Regions from separate parts of the Homo sapiens genome. Here regions 2, 3, 4 and 5 are each linked to region 1. The links are contacts of gene promoters, found by promoter capture Hi-C in blood cells and fetal thymus (Javierre and others, 2016). All regions are on one chromosome and are shown on one strand. Each heading gives the region's core, a stretch centred on a gene start or on the middle of the fragment in contact. The rest is flanking DNA. Distances are from core to core; before and after follow the strand shown. Region 1 holds the start of GDF7 (growth differentiation factor 7). Region 2 has its middle 20 kb from the start of PUM2. Region 3 has its middle 89 kb from the start of LINC02850. Region 4 has its middle 38 kb from the start of PUM2. Region 5 overlaps LOC105373465 (a long non-coding RNA gene).

Region 1 (4,668 bases), core at 676-3,175:
GCCGGGTAAACTGAAGCCAAGACAAGGCAAGCGACTTGCTGTCACCCAGGACTCCCCGCGTGTTTGCACAAATCTTAGCCGAGTTGATTTGTAAAACACCCAAACACTGCGGGCGCATGGCTGCAGGGGGAAAGGAAGCCAAGTAACACAGTAGGACCCAGCATCCGCGTCAGGGAGAGACCGGGGGGCTGGCGGAGTGGGGGCGGCGGTGTTTGTCACCGACTCTCCAATCCCAGTCCTAGAAGCAGGGTGGACTATCCCAGCTCGATCATCCCAGATTCCCCAGGCTCCTGCTAGGAGAAGTCCCTCAGCGCCGGCAGCGCTGACCCTGGTCCAGGGGTCCGCCCTTCCCGGTAATGTCAGGCCTTTCTCCTTGGCATAGATCGGCCTTGGGGTCTGCGAGGACTGAACCTCACTAGGCCTCTCTCTCCCACCCGCAAACATTCTCGAGTGTTATGCGGCTCAATGCCCCAAGGTGAGCAGGCGCCGCGTCTCCGCGGTGGCCGAGAGGGCAATGGCTGAGGAGTTCGTTTGGGACGAAGCAGTGGAGCAGGGGAACTGGGGAGCCTGGGCCGGGCCTCTCTGTGGGTCCCAGCGCAGCGCAGCCAGGCAGGCGTCGGGACCTAGGCGGCTTTGGATTCGGCGGGCGACCTCGCTTTGAAGCTGATCACCCGCTCAAGGTGATCACGACGTGCCGACCCAGTCTAGATTTTGAGTTCTGCAGAAAATGCAATTTTAAAGGAAAAGGACCCGCCTGCCCTTCTTCGGCAGTTCGTTTGGCCCAGGCCTTCGATCAGCTGAAAGTTTCCGATCTAGGGGGATGTCCAGGCTGCCGGCGGAGCAGAGCCGATAACCCCCCTCTCCTGCGCGTTCCCCTGAGACTTGGCCTCCGCAACCTGTCCCAGCCGCGGAGCAAACTGCTCTGCGGCCCGCGCGAGTGCGCCCCAGGGCTTCGCCGCTGCCGGGCGTCCCCTCCATCCACCTCGGGACCCGCGCCATCACCGCGGCGGGGTAAGAAGCTCGGAGGCGCCATCCCGGGGCTCTGCGCCGTCCGCTCTCCCGGCTCCTGGCCGCTCACGCACACAGCCGGTAGCTGGTTTTCGTTAGCCGCTGCCCTCGCCCAGAAGGCGGGTGGAAGGTCGCCAGTTGGACGCACAGCCAAACTCTTAGCGCACTCCCGCGCGAGATCCCCCATCACCCGGGGCTGCCGTCCTCATTTCGAGCTCTTTCTAGAGCTTGGCTCCCGCTGAAGCGCAACTTCCGCGCCCAAACCTTGCTTTTACGACGGGCGGTCCGCGTCCAAAGGTCTCTTACAGGCCTGCCCTTTCAGCTCCTCGCCCTCCCTTCCTCCCCTACCGGCCCCCTCCCCTGCTCTGGCCGCCCGCTGCAATCCTTTGGGGTCTGTGGCTGAGTGGGGAACCGCCGACCCGCGATCCGGAACGCGACTTTGAGGCCGCCGGGAGCATCCTGTGGCCTCTCTCTGCGCGGCCACCCGGCCGCGGCGCGAAGCGGTCTGGAGGGCGAGCCCTTCCGCGGCCCCAACTCTGCCGCCCCGTTCCCGGCATTGGGAACCAGGGCAGGGAGGGGGCGGGTGTTTCTCTGCGGGGGAGTGGGGAGGAAGCTGGGCGGGTGCGCGCGGTGCCCCGAGCCTGGAACCACGGAGGGCGCGTTGGTCTTGGGCGGATGGAGGGGGTGTCGCACTGCCGCGGGGAGGCGTGTCGGGAGGCTGGGGCCAGTGGCAGTCGCTTGGCGAGGGTGGGGGCGTAGCGCTGCGGTGGGAGGAGGCGGCTCCGGCCCTGGTCTCCACTCTAGGCCGGGGTGGGGGGCGCATAGCGGCCGCCGGAGCTTTCAGCAGGGGGCGCTGCTCCGGGCGTTGGGCGGGGGTGGGGTGGGCCAGGAGGGGGGGCCGCGGGCTGGCCGCGCACACTTCCCCCATTATTAAACACTATGTTCAAAAGGCGCCGGGGGACTTCCCGGAGCCACGGAGCCCGCGCCGCCCGCCCGCCCGGCCCACGGAGCCCATGGACCTGAGCGCCGCCGCCGCGCTGTGCCTTTGGCTGCTGAGCGCCTGCCGCCCCCGCGACGGGCTGGAAGCGGCCGCCGTGCTGCGAGCGGCGGGGGCTGGGCCGGTCCGGAGCCCAGGGGGCGGCGGCGGCGGCGGCGGCGGCGGGCGGACTCTTGCCCAGGCTGCGGGCGCCGCGGCTGTCCCGGCCGCCGCGGTTCCCCGGGCCCGCGCCGCGCGCCGCGCCGCGGGCTCCGGCTTCAGGAACGGCTCGGTGGTGCCGCACCACTTCATGATGTCGCTTTACCGGAGCCTGGCCGGGAGGGCTCCGGCCGGGGCAGCCGCTGTCTCCGCCTCGGGCCATGGTCGCGCGGACACGATCACCGGCTTCACAGACCAGGCGACCCAAGGTACTTACGCCTCTTCTGTGCCCGCCCATCCCGTCAGGTCCTGGGCTGAGACCAGCCCCGGAGCCGTGCCGCAGCTCCGTTACATTTGGAGCCGCGGCCCCATGCGGCCCACCCTCAGGTGATAGAAAGAAACTTCGCCGAGGCCAACACTCTCCAGCCCGCTGCACCTGGACTGTGGCGAGAGTCGCGGCAGCTCCCGGGGCCCAGTCCCAGAGGGCTGACTGGTCCCTCTCCCAGGTCTCCCTGGCCTTGCAGGCCGGCTGGTCCCCTCGAGGAGGCAGGCGGAGGCCAAGATTCGCTTCTTGGGGAATGGTCTGGAGTGGCCTCGGAGCCCTCAGAGAAGAAAGGAGGGCAAGAGCTGTGTTCCCGGGAGTCACGGCGAGAGGGACTGCACGGTGGTGAGGGTGATGGCTCCTTCCTTGCAGCAATTTCTGCAGCTCCCAGTCTCCTGCGGGCCACACAAATTGGGGGAAGCCCAGGGAAAACTAGGGCAGAGGCAGGTATCAGACTAAAGTAAATGGCCCTGGAGAGGCTGGTGGCATAACCAGGTATGAGGAGTGCCCTGCTCAGCAGGTTGGTCTGGGTGGTGGTGGTTTGTGTGTGTGTGACATGTGCAGCTATGGGTGCCTGTGTCTGGTGCTGGGCCCCTGGGAGAGCCAGAGGTCAAGGATCCTGGTGGTGTGGGGAGGAGAGGCCTGCTGGGGACCCTGCAGGAATGCAGGCCTCTCTTAGACTAAGCACCCCACCTTGTTCTGCCCTGGGCCTTCCAAAGGTAAGATGTAGGTGAGGCTGTGGTGTGGCTGCTGTATGTCATCTGGATTTTATTAATCTCCATTGAAATCATTAAAGCAGACAGATAGAGAAAATTTACCTAATTTCAGGCGGAAATGCAAGTAATTTCGGCCTTAATTCTATCCAGCCAGAGACCCAGCATGGAGGGCAGGAGGGAAAGAAAGGCGAATAGGGCTGGGAAGTGAGCGGGTGGGGCTGAGGCAGCCCTGCTTGGGAGCCACTGACAGTCAGCATACCTCAGGTCCTAGCCTGGGAAGGCAGGCAGAGGCCTTGCAAGTGACCAGGTCATCCATCCCTGCCAGCACATGCCCAGTGCCTAGCACAGACTGCCTTATTTTTGGTACCTGGAAATCTTGGTACCCAATCCCCAAATGGCCCTGTGGTTCGGTTAGAACTATCAAGCCTTCTCTGACGGCCTGACATGGCCCCTGGGCTGGATGCTGGGATACTTATAGGACGCCCTAGTTCTGGTGCACAGGGACAGGGACTGAAGGGTCCCAGGCTGCAGGAGAAGGGGGGTGTGCTGGGCTCTAAGTGGGCACAGGCACCAGAGTCTTCTTAAGGTTGAGCTAGTTCTACCATGGTCTCAGACAGGAGATAAATCCTTTCTGGGGAGCTCAGCTTGGCTGGCTGAGCCTGAGAGGCCTCCTCTCCCTCCTCCCTCTTGGGGGAAACAGAGTGGCAGGGCTGGTGAGCAGGGAGAGGCAGAGGATCTGCAGGGAATCTCAGAGAAAGTGCTCCTCGTGCAGCCCCAGTGTGCCTCTCCGGCCTCCCTCTCCACCCTGAGTCTCAACTTGGAACAGGGCTGCTTGAGGTCCCCAGAAGCCATTGATAGGGATAGAACCGGGACCTCAGGCATGAGGGCCTGACCTTCGTGGCTGGTGAGCAAATCCCCAGTGGTGGGGGGATTCTGCATAGTCTCTCCGAGTTTAGGGGCAAAACGAAACCATATGACCCCCTTCAAAGGGAGCTCCTTATCTGCTGCGTGGTGGAATTTTAAACTTTTTTTTTTTCTGAGCCCAAAAAGGAAAAAGAAAAAAGAGTGTCCACACTGGAAATAAAACCCCTAAGCCCGAGATAAGTCACTACAGAGGGAAGAATGAGCCCGCGAAGGGACAGACAGGCGGCTCCTGGAAGCGAGACCTCGTTTGGGACGCTGCCCTCACTGCAGCAAGGTCATTCCGGGATGCCCCGCACCCCTCCGGGAGGTTCCTTGTGTTCCTTTACTGCCTTTCCCCCTCCTTCGGAGGCCGCGAGAGCACCGGGAGGAGGTGCATTTGGGGTTGCGATCGCGAGCAGCAGCGCCCATTGTTGCAAGACCTGAGACCTTGGGCGAGCCTGGCCCCTACCTGGGCCTCAGTTCCCCTTCGGCAGAGCGAAGTTGGACTAGAAGGTCTCTGCGGCCGTGCAGACGAATTCTCCCGGACGAATCGCCGAGCCCCAGCCTGCATGGGAGACCGTGGC
Region 2 (4,668 bases), core at 1,431-3,930, 300 kb before region 1:
GGTCGGTGGCCCTCTTCTCATAACTCCATTAGGCAGTGCCCCAGTGGGGACTCTGCGTGAGGGCTCTAACCCTGCATTTCCCTTCTGTACTGCCCTACCAGAGGTTCTCTATGAGGGCTCTACCCCTGCAGCAAACTTCTGCCTGGACATCCAGGTGTTTCCATGCATCCTCTGAAATCTAGGCAGAGGTTCCCAAACCTCAATTCTTGTCTTCTGCACACCCACAGGCCCAATACCATGTGGCAGCTCCCAAGGGGAGATAAGAATTTTCTTATCTGACTATTATTTATTTAATTTACTTAATTTCTTAATTAAGTAAATTAAGTAAAATCTTACCAAATGAAATACAATTGCCTTCTATCCCCTCCTGTTACCTCATTATCTGTTTCAGAAAAGATGAATAAAGAACACTACCGCACCTGGATGGACTTTTTTGCAAGGTATTGCTTGCCTCTCAGGCTTATTCAAATTCCAGAAGTGATTCATTTACAAGTTAATTTCTATTTCCCTGATCCATTCATTCTCCCTAATAATCATTTACTGCCCCTCAAAAGAATTGTCTACATTCTCCATCTCCTCCTTCCACTATGAAAAAGAGTATATACATTTCTGGGCTGAGTGTGGTGGCTCATGCCTGTATTCCCAGCACTTTGGGAGGTCAAGGCGGGCAGATCTCTTGAGCTCAGGACATCAAGACAAGCCTGGGCAACACGGTGAAACCCCATCATTTAAATTGTTTTAATTGTTAAAAATACAAAAATTAGCTGGGTGGTGGAGTGTACCTGTAGTCTCAGTTACTTGGGAGACTGAAGTAGGAGGATGGCTTAAGCCCAGGAGGCAGAGTTTGCAGTGAGCTGAGATCGCATCACTGCATTCTAACCTAGATGACAGAACCAGATCCTGCCTCAAAAAAAAAAAAAGTTTCTCTACCCTATTAAGGGGTGAAGTAATCACTTTGTGGTTCTCTCCTGCACACGTTAGTATACTTGTATGCCTTTTCTCCTATTAATCTGCCTTTTGTCAGTTGATTTTTCAACAAATGTTCAGAGAGTGAAGAAGTTTTTCCTTGGCCTCTATAGTTTTGGTGCTGTGAACAGGATACCAAAACTCTGCTCTTCTGGAAGCTGCAGTCAAGGGAAACCAGGACCTGACAAGTCAGCAGAAGGGTAAAAAATTCTTATGAGACAAAATCCCAGTCTCTTTCTCTCTGGAATCCAGTTGAGTGGACAGTAAAAAATCACTGTTGTTTTTTTCTTAACAAAATCTTGATTAATGGGTGAAAAGGATTTGTTCGACCGGTCTTGGGTGTAATGACCCTGATGTGCTTTTCTGGTATGAATATTCATACTGTCTGATCTTTTTCCTCCCAGAAATAGTTTTTCCCTTTATCTTTGGGGCTGGTATAGGAGAGTTCGATAAAGGCGGGTGGTTGGCTTGCATGTGAGAGGAGGTGTCTGAGTCAGTTATTTCCCATCTTTAAGAATTAGCCAACCCGGAGAAGGGCACTTTCCATGCGTCTGGAAAGCTTCCAAATGCCAGAGCATCAAGATACAGAAAATAGGAAAACATAGTTAATACAGTGACCTCGTCTCAGGACAAGTTGTGAGTTCCTGTGTGTCCTCTCGTGCTTTTGCTCTGTGAGGAACATATCGGGGGGGTTAGCTTGTTGGTCTCAGAATGAGAGACCGTGGAGCAGAGCTGCCCCAGTTAACTGAAAACCTGCAATGTAAAGCGGTCAAGGCAAGGGCAGAGCTGCTGAACTCCAACTACCTCTGGGCGTGCAAGTGTGATTGTTGTTTCAAGGTACTGAGTTTGAGATGACTTGTTATACAGCATTATTGTGGCAATAGATTACTGATACAATGATTGTGGGTTATCAGATTACACCTTCTAACTGTTTGGACTTTTTTTTTGAGACAGGGACAAGTTTTTCTTATATAGGGGTCCTGTCTATGCAAAAACTAAACTCAGCTATGCCTATGTGCTGGTGAGCAGAGAGCGTGACATTTATTATTCTATTCATTTAAAGAAAACTATTCTTGACATTTTAGTATGTGAGTACATCAAAACAAAACTATTATTATCTTGAAAGCATATATTGTTATGGGAATTGGGACTTCTGAACTTTCTGCTATTGTAGGAGTATGTCCTTGTAGGTTTTCCTCAACTATAAACATCTTAGGATGACGAGTTGTGGCTGGCAAGGAATGTGCCTTTCAAGTTTCAAGATGGAGTTTGAACTTAAAATGATGGTTACTGTGGCTCTCCCAGGCTCCTGCTTCCCTAACAACTGGGTCATGTGTCTCTCACTGTTCAGCTCAGTCATCCGGCTCATTCTCATGGTTGATAACAGAGTTCCAGGTGCAGCGAGAGGGTAAGCTCCTATGTGCAAGTGCTTTTCAAGTCTCTGCTTGTTTCAAATGTGCTATTGCCACATGAATTGACGTAAGACCAAACCCTGGGCTAGTATGGGATGGGACAGTGGAACGAGAGCTTGAGAGCCAAATGTTAAATTTCCAGGAATTTTGCAAGCCAGTTGTTAAGCTGCTGGTAGCTTGAAATTAGCCATGCTGGGAGTAATTATATAACAGAAATTGGCAAATGCTATAAACCAGGACTTTTTTTTTCTTTTCTTTTCTTTTTTTTTTTTTTTTCCAGAAAACCAGTTTAAACATCTCACGCCTGTAATCCTAGCACTTTGGGAGGCTGAGGTGGGGGATCACTTGAGGTCAGGAGTTTGAGACCAGCCTAGCCAACATGGTGAAACCCCATCTCCACTAAAAATACAAAAAGTAGCTGGGTGTGGTGGTGTGCACCTGTAAGCCCAGCTACTCAGGAGGCTGAGGCACGAGAATTGTTTAAACCTGGGAGGAGGAGGTTGCAGAGCCGAGATCACACCACTGCACTCCAGCCTGGGTGACAGAGCAAGACTCTGTCTCAAAAAAAAAAAAAAAAATTGCAAGAAGTTCTAATTTAACATCTTCGATGGGCTCTTGGAAACTGGGACTTTAAGTGAATTGTTGTACAGTGAGTCCCAGAATAATGTAGTTTCCTTCAATGCCTTTTTGTTATAATATTGATGAGAAAAGAAGATTGGTTTCATTATACTTTTTTAAAAAAATTAGCCATTCCTGCATTGCTATAATCATACTTTTTGCTTAAAGTCACAGTTTCCAAGAACTTATTAACAACTTTAAGTGAGGACTCACTGTATATAAAAATAGAGTCATGTATACATTGAGCAGTCGAGGGACACATTGTAGTGGTCATTTACTTTTTTAAGCATCATTTAGCCTTTTTCAGTAACAGACCCTGCTTGAATCAAGCTAAGCCACCCTCATGACATAAGGATTTATCCAAAAGACAAGCACATAAACCAAGTTAATTCAAGTGGAATAATTCCACAGGATTTTTTTCAAACTGAAGTTGGGAGAGGAAAGCCCCTCTTCTCTGTCTTACAAACTGTAATGATCTGAGCCAAGAGCTCCCAGTAGTCATCATTATACTTTTGTGGGAGAGAGCCAGCCTAAGAGAGGAACGCTAACATACACAAATTTGCATAAAAGAGAGACCAAAAGAGAAAGCTAGTTGCGGACTGGGAGAGAAAGAGAGAGGGAGAGAGGAAGGAAAAGAAGGGTTTACCCCAACCTCCTTGCTGTTTGGTTGTGATCCAATACAATATCTATCTGGCTGTCTGTGTCAGGCCAGTTTTTGCATCTCTATAAAGAAATGCTTGAATCTGAGGAATTTATAAAGAAAAGAGGTTTAATTGGCTCATGTTCTTCAGGCTGTACAGGAAGTGTGGTGCTGGCATCTGCTTCTGGCAAGGGCCCCAAGAAGCTTACAGTCATGGCAGAAGGTGGAGAGGAAACAGGCATGTCATATGGCGAAAGGGAGCAAGAGAGAGTGAGGACGAGGAGCCAGACTCCTTTAAACAACCAGCTCTCAAGTGAGCTAACAGACTCACTCATAATAAGAACTCACTCATTACCATGGGGAAGGCAGCAAACCGTTGGTGAAAGATTCACCCCCATGATCCAATGGGCCTTCCACTATACCCCACCTCCAAGATTGGAGGTCACATTTCAACATGAGATTTGGAGGGGACAAACATCCAAACCATATTACTGTTTATCTATCTATCTGTCTTAAAATAGATTGAGTTAACAGTTTCTGTTACTTGCAACCAAACAGTCCTGACTAACACACAAACATAGATATCTTGCTAAAGAGGTGGAGAAGGAACCAGTACAAGGAAAGATGAACATTGCTATACAGAGACCAGGATCTGGTTCGGGCATAGTACTCATCCATGGGGGGAAAATTAAACAAAGGAGGCTGTTAGCAACATCCTATGAAGATTTCCTCTGAGATTCATAAGTCTCCCCTCTTTCCCCCATTCCTTGTGTAAGTTCAAGGTATGGTTACATACAATGGAGACAACTCCAGACAAGTTAAGTAGAAATAGGCTGGTGTGGTGGCTCACGCCTGTAATCCCAGCACTTTGGGAGGCCGAGATGGGAGGATGGCTTGAGGTCAGGAGTTCGAGACCAGCCTGGCCAACATAGTGAAACCCTGTCTCTACTAAAAATACAAAAATTAGCTGGGTATGGTGGTGCATGCCTGTAGTCCCAGCTACTCGGAAGGCTGAGGGAGGAGAATCACCTG
Region 3 (4,668 bases), core at 1,047-3,546, 280 kb after region 1:
TCATGTCGTGATTTGTCTCTGCTTCTTGGGAGTACTTCCAGCATCACCAGTGGCACTTTGTATGGGTCCCATGGTGTTATTCAAGGTTTATGGTATTGCAGTAACCATGATGAAAAATACATGAGAACCGGAAGAGATCACTTGTTATTGCAATATACAGTTTACTGGAGAGATAACCTTCCCATGTGGAGATGAATAGCATCACGTGGCATTTTAAGCAGATTCTTGCAACACTTGAGCTTACCTCAACAGCAACAGGGGGTGGCTGTGAAATTACAACAGTGGTACAATATGCACTATAGTTAATTTTATGCAGTTGTGATTCAGTACTGCATCTTTACATTTGTTTACATTTCTCTCCACTGCAAATGGTGTCATATATTGTCAGTAAGAGTTTGTGGGCATAAGTTTTGATAAATTTTAATTTTTTATAATAGATTTGTGTCTATTTTATGGTAGTAAATTATAAAAGAGACTTGTATCTACATATATTTTATGCATTCATGATATACCTAACTTTTTCTTAATTTTTTCAAGATTTCTAGGCTATGCGGTTTGTCTGGGCATTTTGTTCAAATTGTTGCAAATCTCCAAAAAATTTTCTAGTGCATTTGTTGAAAAAAATCATGCAGTTCAAACCCATGTTGTTTACGGGTGAACTGTGAAAGGAAGAAGTGTGGGCAGAATAGATGTGGGGTGGTGGGATGGAGGGGTTGGGTGGGCCTATAATCACAGCTGGTCTTGAGTTGCTGGAACACTTTCTAGAACCTTCTAAAACTCAAAGGCCACTCACACTGTGGCCAAACTTTGCTCATCTTCCCTCTGCACTTATGGCTCCTTTGGCCCAGCCTGGACTGGCTTCAGGAGAGGAAACTGGCTGTCCTTTGGAAGCTTCACTTTGGCTTGATTGTTGTGCCGCCAGGAAGACACAGTATCCTGAGGCAAACACCCTGGTTTCCTGGTCCTGCAGGACCATTCTCCCACTTCCCTCGCCCAGCTGGGGCAAGCCAGGTCTAGTGAGAGCAAAGATGTTCTCATTCAATTTGGGGGCCTGGCAGCCAGATTTAATCTAACTAGGCTGAGGGAGGGAGTTGGAGATGATCTTGGGCTTGCCTGGGATGAGTTTTAATTCTACCCTCAGGATTCTCACTACTACGTGATGAAACCAGCATCTAACATAGTCCATTTACTTATTTCTGATAATGAATGTACATGGCATAAAATTCAAAGGACATAAAAGCATACAAAGTGAAAAGCAAGTCTCCCTCTCACCCCCATTCCCCTGGCTTATTTCTCCAAAGGCAACCTGTATTACCAGTTTTTCATATAAACTTCTAGAAGGCCTCTATGCATATCCAAGCATATATATTCTATTTTTTAAACAAATGATAGCATTCTATACAAAAATTCTGTCTGTGTTTCATGTTACACAACTTACAGTTTATTCCATGTTAGGACATACAGAACTGCTGCCTAAATATAATCACAGTTCTATAATATTTCACTGTATTGATATATTTTAATTTATTGAATTAGTTCTCTATGGGTGTACATTTGGGTTGATTCCAGTCTTTTGCCTTTGTAAGAACAATGGTGCAATGATTATCACATACCACGTATATTTAGGATAAACACCTTGATGTGGATTTGCTGGGTCAAAGTTATTGCCTTTGGGATTTTGACATCTATTTTGACACCTATTGACCAACCATCCTCTGTAAAACTTGAGCCATCCTCTCAGCAATGCATGAAAATGCTAATTTCCCCACACCTGTGCCAACGCAGTGTGGTGACAGGGCTTTTTAACTTTTGCCAATCTGATGGGTACATAATGATAGTTCACTGTGGTTTTAGTTTAGATTTTCATATAATAAAGGAGGTTTTGTATTCTTTATGAATATTTTTGTGTGTATCTGAATTTCCTTTTCCATGTACTGTCTGTTCATATCCTCCTACCATTTTTCTAATGTATTGTTGCTCATTTTCCTACTGACTTGTTGGAACTTACTGAAAGAGAGAGGAGAATTCCCCTTCTTGATGTTTTATATTTCTTAATGAAAGGGCATCAGTGAATGTAAGTCTTGTCCTCCTCTGGTCCCCTTCCCTTCCCTCACTCCAACTGTGAGGAGGAGAGGTAAATGATCTGATTGCAAGTTTGAGAGGAGGAAGCGTGTATGCCTACCTCGGCCCTTCCCTCTCCCTCCCTGCCCTTTGGGACATGCCTGCGGAGAATCTGTGCTCTTGGTGGCCCTCAGCTTATGCTCTGGCCTGCAGGCATCTAGAGCTGCTTGTGTCCTGGTGAGCGGATCTGCTTCATCCTGGGATCCAGTATGAGAGAACCTGTTCTTTACACACCTAAATCACATTCTCAGGCGGATCCACCAGTAATAAAGCTGAGTTTTGGGTTCTGACTTGCCTACTGCCTCATTGGTAGGGAATTTTGGCAGAAAAAGGGGATGCTATTTATTAGACCCCTCATACCCTGATGGGCTTTTTAGTATCAAGGGAATTAATCTTTCACCTGTGATATAAATTCTAACTATGTTTCCAGCTTTTCGTTTATCTGTTCATTTGTTTTTTTGATGGTGCTCTCCTTTGTTTTTTGGTGGTGTTCTCCTTTAAATGGAAATCTGTGAAACTGATCAAGTTTCACCAGATGTGAAGATATTGAGGTTTTGCGTCATGCTTAAAAACACCTTTCTCACTGCTAGATTATAGAATATATTTTCCTGTGTTTTCTTCAGGTAAGTGCCTGGCTCCATTTTTCATGTTTAAATTCTTGTGAGTTCCTTCCTGGCATGGCATGATACGGGAAACCTGGACTGATCCTAGGGGAGGGGGGCTTGGGAAGTGGCAAAAGAAGGAAAGACATGGGAACACAGAGCCACGTGTCTTTGCTTGGGTCAGTGCTGGTTGGTGACGTGCAGTTTTATGTCCTGGTGCAGCTTCTAGAGTTACCTGGGCACTTTGGCGGGCGGCTGTGGTCGGGAAGGAGGAAATGCAAAGCTCGAGTAGCCTCCCTCGGGGGTCCAGAAAGGGAAGGGACTCTCTGAACCCACTCGGTGAGTCGGGGTGCTAGCCGTACTAAAGCCTAGGTCTCCTGGCAACAGGTCCAGGGTTTGTTTTCCGGTCTCACTGGAGTCTAAACCCAGCTTGGTTCCAGTTGAACCAGAAAGCTCAGGGGACAACATGCCCAGCTCTGAGGTTGATGGGCCCTGTCCCATGCCCTGGAAAGCCCTGCTGTATGGCCTGGGCCTGGCCGACTTCAGACTCCTGCTGTGGATGCCGGCTTTGCTGTGACGACCAGAAAACCAAGTCCATGCTGCGACCCGCGGCCTCTAAAAGGAAAGGGGTGACATGCCTCCTCTCTTCCAACTAAAATCTACAACGGGCTGCAAATGTGGGATCATTTAGAGACCAAAGTCTTCCTGTGTCAGGTACTTGTTACTCTAAGTTTCTTTCACATGTTATAAAGCAACACAACTTCAGGGGAGCAGAGTGGACAGTGTGCCTCTTTCCCCTCAGCCCTGGGTACTCAATAGGCTGAAGAACAGGTGATGAGCAGCTTGGTGGGTGGCTTCTCACCTGTCTACTAGCAGGCCCCTTCTCTTCCCACCCACCTGTCCCTGAATAAGAAAACAATCCCTAACCTTTTTTTTTCCCTAAGCATAATTTAACACTGAGTTCTTTGGTTGCTCTCTGAAGCTTTTTATGTAAATTATTGTGAGTCTGCACGAATGGGATAATGCCTTATTACAGGGGTTCACGAGCTGTGTGTATTAAATGTTGTATTTAAAATGTTTAGTACATTTAAATTTTATGTGTGAAATCTTTATATTTTCTTTTCCAAGTGCTGTGATCAATTCTGTGTGACCTCTGGTCATTCTTTCTTCCTTGTTACCTTCCTTTTCTGCTCAGATAGCCTTGACTGGTCTCCACCAAGGTCTCTATATACAGTTGCACAGGCTGTGCACTGCACAACTCCAGGGAGTACCATTGATTTTATAATCTATGGGCTGAAAGGTATCTTTGGAGTTAAGGATTATGGCAGCCCTGCTTCCTTCCATCCATCGTGTGGTCACAATTTACATAGGCAATTCTAATTCCTTTGTATAATTAATGACTCATAGGTTATATCCCAGGGCCACTTGGAAGCATTTTTGGGGTTACCTGCTGTTCTGTATTATCCATGCTTGACTCTCCCACTAATGCATGTGATTAAGAGTTACTCCTGCTCTCTCAGTTGAGTTGAATCAAGGGGAGAAGAGCAAAATGTCAGTATGGGAACAGACTAATACAGAGAGCAAGGAAGGTAGTGGTGAGCAGCAGTCAGGCCGTGAACTGGGCGTTAGAGCTGAGGTAAGGTCCAGGCTGCTGGGCGACCCTTTGTGCTAGGAAGGGCCTCTTTCCTCTACAGGTAGGGAGGAAATTTGTCTTTGCTTCTGCCCTGACCTTTAACTCTCTATTAAATGGGATTCTGTATCTTTGGGCCAGCTGCTTCTTCGGCTTATGCCTCAGTTTTTCTATCCAGAAAAATGGGGTGATACCTGCCATGCTAACATCAGAGAGCTCTTGTAAGAACAAGGCATTTTGTGCTGAGGTCACGGTGAGCCAGCCCTGCAGAGAGAGCTCAAGACTTCTGGGCTGAGGCTGAGGGATGGAGGCTTG
Region 4 (4,668 bases), core at 605-3,104, 280 kb before region 1:
TCCCATGCCCAGTGCAACACGGTTTTCTATTAAAACCTCTCTTTCCTTGATCTTTCCTGGGCTGTGTTGGCAAACAGCTCCTGCAAACTCCCTGTTCCAGGGTCTGAGTTGATGGGTGCTGGCTAGATCAGTGAGGCCTCAGGTTTTTTTTCTTTTTGTTTTTGTTTTTAATACACTATGCCCTGGATTTTTGGCTGCTGGCTCATACTCCCTCTGGTGCCGTAATCATTAACTCCTGCAAGAAGCCCACAAGACAGACAGACATCAAAGCCCCTGTTTTGCTCAACAAGAGGCAGTGTCTGTTGAAGTCCTGAGATGGAGAGAGGTAAGGAAAGAGATGGCTGTGAGGGGTGGTAGGGCAAGGGACCAACGATGGGGTGCCTGGGCTGAGGCTGCGAAGGGAGATTAGTCTGTGGAGAACAGAGTCCCTGATTGCTGGCTGTATGATTGGCTCTGGCATCTTCATGTCACCACAGGGGGTCTTGGTCCACATGGGCAATCCTGGGGCCAGTCTTATGGGTGGGCTGTGGCCTCCTGGCCATGCTGGGCACCCTGTGCTATGCTGAGCTGGGTGCCTTGTTCCTGAATCTGGGGCAAGTATACCTACATCTTATGAAACTTTGGCTCCTTGCCAGCCTTCCTGGTCATCTTCACATATTTGCTGGTGGCCAGACTAGCTACCATTGCTTCTGTTTCTCTGAGCTTTGCTGAGCATGCAATGGTTCCCTTTTACCCTGGCTGTGCCTCACTGCCCCCTGCTGTGCTCAAGAATGTGGCTGTCACCAGCATCCTCCTGCTGATGGTGGCTAACTGCTGGAGCTTGAAGCTGGCCACCATGCTGACAAATGTGTGCATGGCTACCAAAGTATTCTCATTGCTGGTCATCCTTGGAGCGGGGGTGGTGTTGGGCCAGGGCCACATATGCACGGAAGCCCTTCTGTCTGCCTTCCACCACATGATGCTGCAGGCGGGGCACATTGGCATGGCCTTCTAGCCTTCTACCAGGGCCTGTGGTCTTTTTTTTCTTTTTTTTTTTCCTTTTGAGATGGAGTCTCGCTCTGTTGCCCAGGCTGGAGTGCAGTGGCACAATCTAGCCTCACTGCAACCTCCGCCTCTCGGGTTCAATCGATTCTCCTGCCTCAGCCTCCCGAGTAGCTGGGATTACAGGCTCAGACCACCATACCCAGGTAATTTTTGTGTTTTTAGTACAGACAGGGTTTCATCATGTTGGCCAGGCTGGTCTCAAACTCCTGACCTCAAATGATCTGCCCACCTCAACCTCCCCAAATGCTGGGATTACAGGCATGAGCCACCACACTCGGCCTGCCTGTGGTCCTTCGGTGGCTGGAATAGCATCAACTATGTGATGGAGGAGATCCAGAATCCACATATGAGCCCATAAAGTCACTTCTGGGGGTAAAATCTCTGAACTTCAGCAACTCCAATAATTGGAGCTGCAATCATCCAGATTTGGGGTGATTAAGACTATGAGCAATCCAGCTGGAAATAAGGGCTCCCCTCCTGCATGCTGGCACTTGCATGCTAGTCCACTGACCATCCCAATTAGTTTATGTAATTATAGAAATAATCACTTTGCAAATAAGCAGAGAACTTTCTAGTAATATACCCACGGTCTCCATTTTCTGCTCTGCGAGGTGGGCATTATGAGCTCATTTTTCACAGGGGAAACAGGTTTGGAAAGGGAAAATGATTTTGCGGTCACACTGCCTGTAAGAGACCATGCTCAATGCCTCAGCTCTATGTCTATCTCCTGGATCATCCTCTCCAGAACACTGCAGCAGGTAGTTAATTCACAGTTGTCAGAGCCTGGGGGCTACTATGGGACATAGCACACTTTGGACAGGGGAAGACCCAATCCTACCTGGCTCACCCCACTTGTGGGACCTGGGCTGACTAGTCCCTGCCCTGGTGGGGACGGTCTTCAGGACAGCTTGGGATTCAGGTGAAGCATTTGGATCTTTGGTTACTGCAGATATTAACTCTTTCCTATTTTAAATATATTTGCCTGGGATATTATTTGTTTTATTTTTTTCCCTGTGGAAGTTTTAAATTCTCACAAAGTGAAAACTTCGTGTCTTTTCCTCTCTGTCCTCTGGGCTGGCTTAAGGGCCATTACAGCTCTCGCAGTCTTGGCAAAGGCTACTTGGAGTGGGGTTTGGGAGATGTTGAGAGAAGATGAGCAGCTTGGAGATAAGTCCATGTGCAGAGAGAGAGCCAGGGAGAGAGCCAGGAGTTCTGGGACCTGGTTTTAATTTTTGCATGTAATTCCTTGAGCGTCAGTTCTTTGCCTATAAAATGGGATTGTAATAGCTGCCCTGCCTACCTCACAAGGCTTTGGGATTTCAATGACAATCACCTTTGGACGGCTAGGCCTCTGAGTGCCTTAAACAGGTCTACAGGTGCACCTCTTAGGTGAATGGTTCCCTGTGGTCAGGTTGGTTCTGGGGGTAACTGGGAACTACAGGCAGGGGCACTGGCTCCTTCAGTTCACAGGGCGAGAGCCCTCTCTCTCTGAACCCACACGCTGGGCTCAGAGCTGGACTTGGGAAAGAATAGGGGGTCCAAAAATGAGGCAGACAAGACCCCATGCTTAGAGCAGGGACTGGCAAACCTTTGCGATAAAGGATCCAGAGAGTTAATGTTTTTGGCTTTGTGAGTGTTCTGTCAAAGGGCTGTATATCCAAAGTGGCCCCCAAACGCCAAAAGAGCTGAGAAACCAAAGAATGAGACAGACAAATTCAGTTTGTCAATAGAAGGTCAGGGAACTTACAGACAGAAGCAGGGTCTTGGGTGGCTGCAAGACAGGTAGATCTCTGTACTGCACCCCCAACCCAGACCCGGGGCTTATATGTTGGGGAAAAAGTATATGTGCTTTGGAAGGCACGTGTACATTGCTATGGGTGTCACAGCCTATGCTATATGGACCAACAGCAAAGGTTGTTTTCAGGGAAGGTGACACTTACAGTGAATAGGTGTTCCCACACAAAGAATAAAACATCAACTAGATGATGGAGGCATTCCCAGACGTGGGGCTAGTCAGAAGTCACCTGGGGGATTAGCATTTATTTTTATTTTATTATTTGTTTTGTTTTGTTTTTTTGAGACACAGTCTTGCTCTGTCACCCAGGCTGGAGTGCAGTGGTGCGATCTCAGCTCACTGCAGCCTCTGCCTCCTGGGTTCAAGCAATCCTCCAACCTCAACCTCTTGAGTAGCTGGGACTACAGTCACCTGCCACCACGTCCGGATCCTTTTTGTATTTTTAGTAGATGCTTGCCACCACCCCTGGCTAAATTTTGTATTTTTAGTAAAGATGGGGTTTCACCATGTTGGCCAGACTGGTCTCAAACTCCTGACCTCAAATGATCCACTCACCTCAGCCTCCCAAAGTGCTGGGATTACAGGCGTGAGCCACCATGCCCAGCTGGGGATTAGCATTTAAAATAAACTCACTCTTGTCCCCACAGTGGGCCAAATGGTCTCTGTCCCAACTACTCGACTCTGTTGTAGCATGAAAATGGCCAAGATAAATACATGAGTGGGGCTGTGTTCCAATAAAACTTTATTTACAAAACTAGGTGGTGGGCTGAAGTTGGTCTAGGGCTGTACTTTGTTGATCCCTGCTGCGTATAGAGCATTTTTGACAAATGTGAGTTTCAAAGCAAATATAAAGCCGTTCCTCTGAATGCTGGGCATTTGGGATTCTGGCTCCAACTTTGCCCTCTAAAGTACATGTTAGGTGTGTCTTTGTTTATTTCATACTTTTTTTCAAGAAACTGCAAAACCTTTGCCAAACTGGGGCCAGCCTTATGCCCAGACTCCCTGGGATTTGAGTGAAGAATGAAGGTACCTGAGCATGAAATCAGAAAATCTGTTCTTGTTGTCTTGGCCAGAAACCTGTCTGTGGCGCAACTCAGGGCTCTGCAATCATCACAGCTCTTTAGCTGGTGGGAGAGCTCCCTAAGATGAGGTCAAGTTCAGAGGCAAACCCAGCCTCTGCCCTCTGACTGTGGGGCTGGGCCATGCGTGGTGGGTGGTCATCTTGCTGAAGCCATCCCACCCCGAGACCTGTGGGAGGGAACACTCCACTCTACTGGCCCACTTTGGCTACTGGCAGCCTCATCTGAGTACCTCATTTGGGAGAGCCATAATTCCAGCACTGGAGTGATGAGGAATTTGCTGCTATGCCTATGTGGTGGTTGGGGCAATTTCCTTTGCCCTCAGAATCCCCGATTTTAGACAGAGTCTTGCTCTGTCACCCAGGCTGGAGTGCAGTGGAGTGCAGGCTCCTTGCAACCTCTGCCTCTCCAGTTCAAGCGATTCTCCTGCCTCAGCCTCCCAAGTAGCTGGGAGTACAGGCATGCCCCACCACGCCAGGCTAATTTTTGTAAGAATCCCCGATTTTAGGGCTGGGAGGGACCTGAGAGGACCCACCTCATACGAGAATCCACTGGTGTGCAATTGGCTTCACTTTCACAAATTTTCCACGTAGCCCACCAGGCAGTGTGACTGGCAAGGCAGAGCAGCCCAACGAGGCTTCCTGGGAGAGGAGTCTGGAGCCAAGCCTCCAAGGGCAGATGCAGCCTGTGGCAACACAGCTATGTGGAGCAGCATGAACAATCCAGACACCAAAAAGGGCAAGGCATGTC
Region 5 (4,668 bases), core at 836-3,335, 260 kb before region 1:
GCCAGGATGGTCTCCGTCTCCTGACCTTGTGATCTGCCTGCCTCGGCCTCCCAAAGTGCTGGGATTACAGGCGTATTCTGGATTTTTCTAAAAATTCCCCAACAATTTATCTGGGGCTGGGTGTGGCGGCTCACACCTATGATCCTAGCACTTTGGGAGGCCAAAGCAGGAGCTTGAGCCCAGGAGTTCAAGACTAGCCTGGGCAACATAGTGGGACCTCTCTACAAAAAAAATTAAAAAATCTATAAAAACAACACAAAACCCACAATTTATCTGGAAGGGCTTTTTATATGATACTTTTTATATTAGCACATACCTTCTTTTTAATGACTATTTAGTATTATTGGCCTATTCTTCAAAAGTATTTGGTTGTTTTCTCTTTATTATAAGCAAAGCTGAAGGGGCCATCTTGGTATAGAGGAAAGGGATGAACAGACCACAGACATCCTCTTTCTTCCCTGAATCATCACTGTTCACCTTGTTTTAAGTTATGGTCTTCCTCCTGAATTCATTTTTCATGATTTTTTTTCCTATAAATTAAATACATGTTTTAGATATAGTGAGGTGTATCTAAGCTATAGTTATTGTGACACATACTGAGGGCTCTATTAACTGTTGATTTGCCTATAGAATAGAGATGCTCTTCAATTATTTTTTTAAATTACGTAAACTCTAAGTTAAAATTTTTGTGAAATGAATCTTCCAGATCGGGTGCGGTGGTTTACGCCTGTAATCCTAGCACTTTGGGAGGCTGAGGTGGGTGAATCACTTGAGGCCAGGAGTTCTAGACTAGCCTGGCTAACATGGTGAAACTGCATCTCTACAAAAAAATACAAAAACTAGCCGGGCGTGGTGGCACCTGTAGTCCCAGCTGCTTGGGAGGCTGAGGCAGGAGAATCACTTGAACCCAGGAGGCGGAGGTTGTAGGGAGCTGTGATCATGCTACTGCACTCCAGCCCGGGTAACAGAGCCAGACTCTATCTCAAAACAAAACAAACAACAACAAAAACACACACACACAAAACAAAGAAAATAAGAGCTTCTAACTTAATTTTTTTTTTCACTGACCCCACAATCTATCATGTAATGAGCAATCGAGTATAAATCATTTGGGAATCACTAAAATAGCTAAATACATTGAAGAAAAAAATAGCATTTAAAACAACATTTTTATTTTAGGTTTAGGGGTACATTTGAGGGTTTGTTACATAGACAGACACCTGTCACGGGGCTTTGGTGTACATATTATTACATCATCCAGGTATCAAGCTCAGTACCTGATAGTTACCTGTTCTGCTCCTCTCCCTCCTGCCACCCTCCCGCCTTGAGTAAGCCCCAGTATCTGTTGTTTCCTTCTCTGTGTCCATAAGTTCTTATCATTTAGCTCCCTAAAAATAGCATTTTGTAACCTGAATATATTCCCTTAGAAAACATCTTTTTTGGGAATAAAGCTTAGGTTTGTGTACCTATGCTTTTTATTTTAGAATAAAAAATGTTATACAATTTTTAAAGGTAGAAAATTATGTGATATAATCTTTTTTGAAGGTCAGAATTTTATTGCTTTGGTCCAAAGGCTTCTTCAGGCCCTTCAGAAAGAAGGCCATACGATGTTATCTTTAAAACATAACACAAAAGCAAAACAGTAAACGATGTGAATTTCTGACTGTAATAGTAAACAGCATCTTTACAGCTAGTTTCCCATTAGAGGTGATCAGAACAGAATATTACCAATGCCAGGTGACTCTGTTTCAGAGATGAAAAGGCAGAGAAACACTTACATCATGAGACAAGAACCAGATGGAAAGAGCTACTTGGCAGGGTTAAAAGAAAAACTTTAGACAAATTAGATTTAACAGAGTTTAACTGAGCAAGAAAAAGAAAAAAAAATGATTCATGAATCTGGCAGTCCTGAGAATCGGAACAGATTCAGAGAGACTTCAGGGCTGCTGTATGGGCAGATAAATTTATGGCAGAAGAAGAAAAGCAAAGGACAGAAAATAGAAGTGAGGTAGAGAAACAGCTGCATTGGTTACAGCACAGTATTCGCCTTATTTGAACATGGTCTGAACAGCTGGCCGCCTGTGATTGACTAATGCATGGCTGTTGTGATTGGTTGAGACTTAGCTATTGTTACAGAAGCTCACCCCTAAATTAGGTTTTCAGTTTGTTTAATACTAAGTTAGTTTGCAGTTCATACATAAGAACTTGAGTGGCTGGGTGCAGTGGCTCACGCCTATAATCCCAGCACTTTGGGAGGCTGAGGCGGGTGGATTATTTGAAGTCAGAAGTTCAAGACCAGCCTGGGCAACATGGTGAAACCCCGTCTCTACTAAAAATACAAAAATTAGCCAGGTGTGGTGGTACACGCCTGTAATCCCAGCTACTCGAGAGGCTGAGGCAGGAGAATTGCTTGAACCTGGAAGGTGGAGGTTGCAGTGAGCCAAGATCGCGCCATTGCACTCTAGCCTGGGTGACTGAGTGAGACTCCATCTCAAAAAAAAAAAAAAAAAAAAGAAAACATTTAAGACTTGAGATGATGCCGTGCCCCAGGGGATATATTAGTCTGTTCTCACACTGCTAAAAGGACATACCCAAGACTGGGTAATTTATAAAGGAAAGAAGTTTAAGGGACTCACAGCTCCACATGGCTGGGGAGGCCTCACAAACATGTAGGAAGATGAAGGAAGAGCAAAGGGACATCTTACATGGTGGTAGGCAAGAAAGCTTGTGAGGGAGAACATGAGACTTGTTCACTATCAATGGAATAGCATGGGAAAAACCTGCCCCTATGATTCAATTACCTTCCGCCAGGTTCCTCTCACAACATGTGGGGATTATAACAACTCAAGGTGAGATTTGGGTGGGAACACAGAGCCAAACCATATCAAGGGACTATTATGACGATCAAGAAAATAATAGGAAAAGACCAGCTGGTTGCCGTGGTATGAGCCTGTAGTCCCAGTTACTTGAGAGGCTGAGGCAGGAGGATCTTTTAAGCCCAGGAGTTTGAATCCAGCCTGGGCAGCATACACAGACACTACCTCTTAAAACAAACAAGCAAACAAACAAACAAGTCCAAAGTGTACTCCTCAACAAGTTCTAAGAAATGAACTCAACGAACCTAACCAAATCAAACAGGTCAAAGTTCAGACAATATAGGCAGTTTAACAATATTTGACTCTAGTTGGGCATAGTCCTTGGTGCAGGATTTGGTGATGATTAAGAACTATAGTTTGCTGTAAAATGGCCTGATTTTAAAAGGCCATTTTTGTTGTTACCTGGTAACACAAGTCATAATAACCTGGAGACCTAAGGGAAGAAATTTATACTTTAGAAAACCTTGGAAAAAGCCAAGCTTGCCATTCACCATTCGGGATGCTTACAAACCAACTGTCAGTTGCTCCCATAGACATGTCATCTGTTCCTTTCTCTTGAGAGATTTCCTTAACGTATCTGGTGGCAGTATCTTAGAAAACAGCAGTATCAGCCCCCTTTTAAATATAGCTTTCTGTAATAAAAAAATCAAGGGAGAAATAGGTAAAACATTCAGTTTTGCTCAATAGCAAACAAAAGCCCCCAACTTAAATAAAAAGGGAACTTAAGCTACGTGATGTTCCATTGAGTGGTTTTGTTGAACGCATATGTTATTTATTTTCAGAGTGACTTCTACTTGTTTGAAACCCTAGGAAGTCTGATTCGCTGCAAAATCCAAGATTTTTCTTAATTTATGGATTAGCTTTAAATTCCATTCTTCTGGTACCTCACTACTGCTGAAAGTGGCCCCCCAGGAATCCCACTGGACTCTTTCCTCAGTGGAAACTAGCTTATCTTCATCAGTTTCAAAGTTGCTAATTTTGATTATCGACCATTTTGGCCTTTGATCATAGAAGCTACTACAGGAACATTCAGAGGAAGCTATTTGAAAGGCAGAAGGGAGCCAGCCAAAAAGCAAGATCCAAACCAGTGAGGAGGCAGAACAGAATGACCATACCGCACAGACCCAGTATACGCCCCCAGCGATTGGAAAAGAGGGCCACTTAGTTGTGCGGGAGCAAGGGTCGGTTGAGTTTGTTCACCCATGAATCCGCATACCTCCTACACAAGTTCCTGTGAACATTTTACTTTTTGTAGTCCTTTAATAACATGCTATAAGGGTGTATAACCACCTTTAGTAAAAAAGGATCCTACTGACTTTAATCTGGTTACATGATACAAACAATACCTGTGCCCACATAGGTAATTCCCAGGTCTTCTGTGCATGATGCCTGGAAGCACAGTATTCTTTTTCAGGCATTACTTAGACAGGTTTTCTATATTTGGTAGTGATCATTTTATTAATGGGAAAAGTTAGAGTGTTGTTTCGTTTCTTTCTTTCTTTCTTTCTTTCTTTTTTTTTTTTTTTTTTTTTTTTTGAGACAGAGTCTTGCTCTGTCTCCCAGGCTGGAGTGCAGTGGCATGATCTCAGCTCGCTGCAACCCCCGCCTCCCGGGATCAAGTGATCCTCTGCCTCAGCCTCCCTAGTAGCTGGGATTACAGGCACATGCCACCACACCTGGCTAATTTTTGTATTTTTAGTAGAGACGGGGTTTCGCCATGTTGGCCAGGCTGGTCTCGAACTCATGGCCTCAAGTGATCCGCCCCCCCCGTCGGCCTCCCAAAGTGTTGGGA

What was found. The method cuts DNA at HindIII sites, captures the fragments that hold promoters and counts their contacts. A CHiCAGO score of 5 or more calls a contact.
Region 2: a fragment that was not itself captured here is called in contact with the fragment with the promoter of GDF7 in region 1 in 2 of 17 cell types (neutrophils and monocytes); the score reaches 8.5 in neutrophils.
Region 3: a fragment that was not itself captured here is called in contact with the fragment with the promoter of GDF7 in region 1 in 17 of 17 cell types (naive B cells, naive CD4 T cells, total B cells and 14 more); the score reaches 18.1 in naive B cells.
Region 4: a fragment that was not itself captured here is called in contact with the fragment with the promoter of GDF7 in region 1 in 1 of 17 cell types (neutrophils); the score reaches 6.7 in neutrophils.
Region 5: a contact is called between a fragment that was not itself captured here and the fragment with the promoter of GDF7 in region 1, in 11 of 17 cell types (neutrophils, naive B cells, monocytes and 8 more). The highest score is 9.9, in neutrophils.

Annotation. Positions count from the first base shown.
Region 1 is chr2:20,665,219-20,669,886 of GRCh38, forward strand. It overlaps GDF7 (growth differentiation factor 7), which reads left to right and starts at 1,926. Exons shown (of 2, transcript NM_182828.4): 1 at 1,926-2,412. The coding sequence starts at 2,022. RefSeq lists enhancers at 669-1,499, 2,486-2,605 and silencers at 1,586-1,695, 1,766-1,815, 1,856-2,005. The HindIII fragment of the contact is 16,143 bases long and covers 1-4,668 here.
Region 2 is chr2:20,368,020-20,372,687 of GRCh38, forward strand. No RefSeq gene overlaps it. Among named protein-coding and RNA genes, the nearest start is that of PUM2, 20 kb to the left of the region's middle. The HindIII fragment of the contact is 2,315 bases long and covers 1,524-3,838 here.
Region 3 is chr2:20,946,503-20,951,170 of GRCh38, forward strand. No RefSeq gene overlaps it. Among named protein-coding and RNA genes, the nearest start is that of LINC02850, 89 kb to the left of the region's middle. The HindIII fragment of the contact is 2,814 bases long and covers 890-3,703 here.
Region 4 is chr2:20,386,071-20,390,738 of GRCh38, forward strand. It overlaps the pseudogene SLC7A15P. Among named protein-coding and RNA genes, the nearest start is that of PUM2, 38 kb to the left of the region's middle. The HindIII fragment of the contact is 8,101 bases long and covers 1-4,668 here.
Region 5 is chr2:20,402,041-20,406,708 of GRCh38, forward strand. It overlaps LOC105373465 (a long non-coding RNA gene), which reads right to left. Exons shown (of 5, transcript XR_001739317.2): 5 at 1,151-3,508. Among named protein-coding and RNA genes, the nearest start is that of RHOB, 43 kb to the right of the region's middle. The HindIII fragment of the contact is 1,273 bases long and covers 1,450-2,722 here.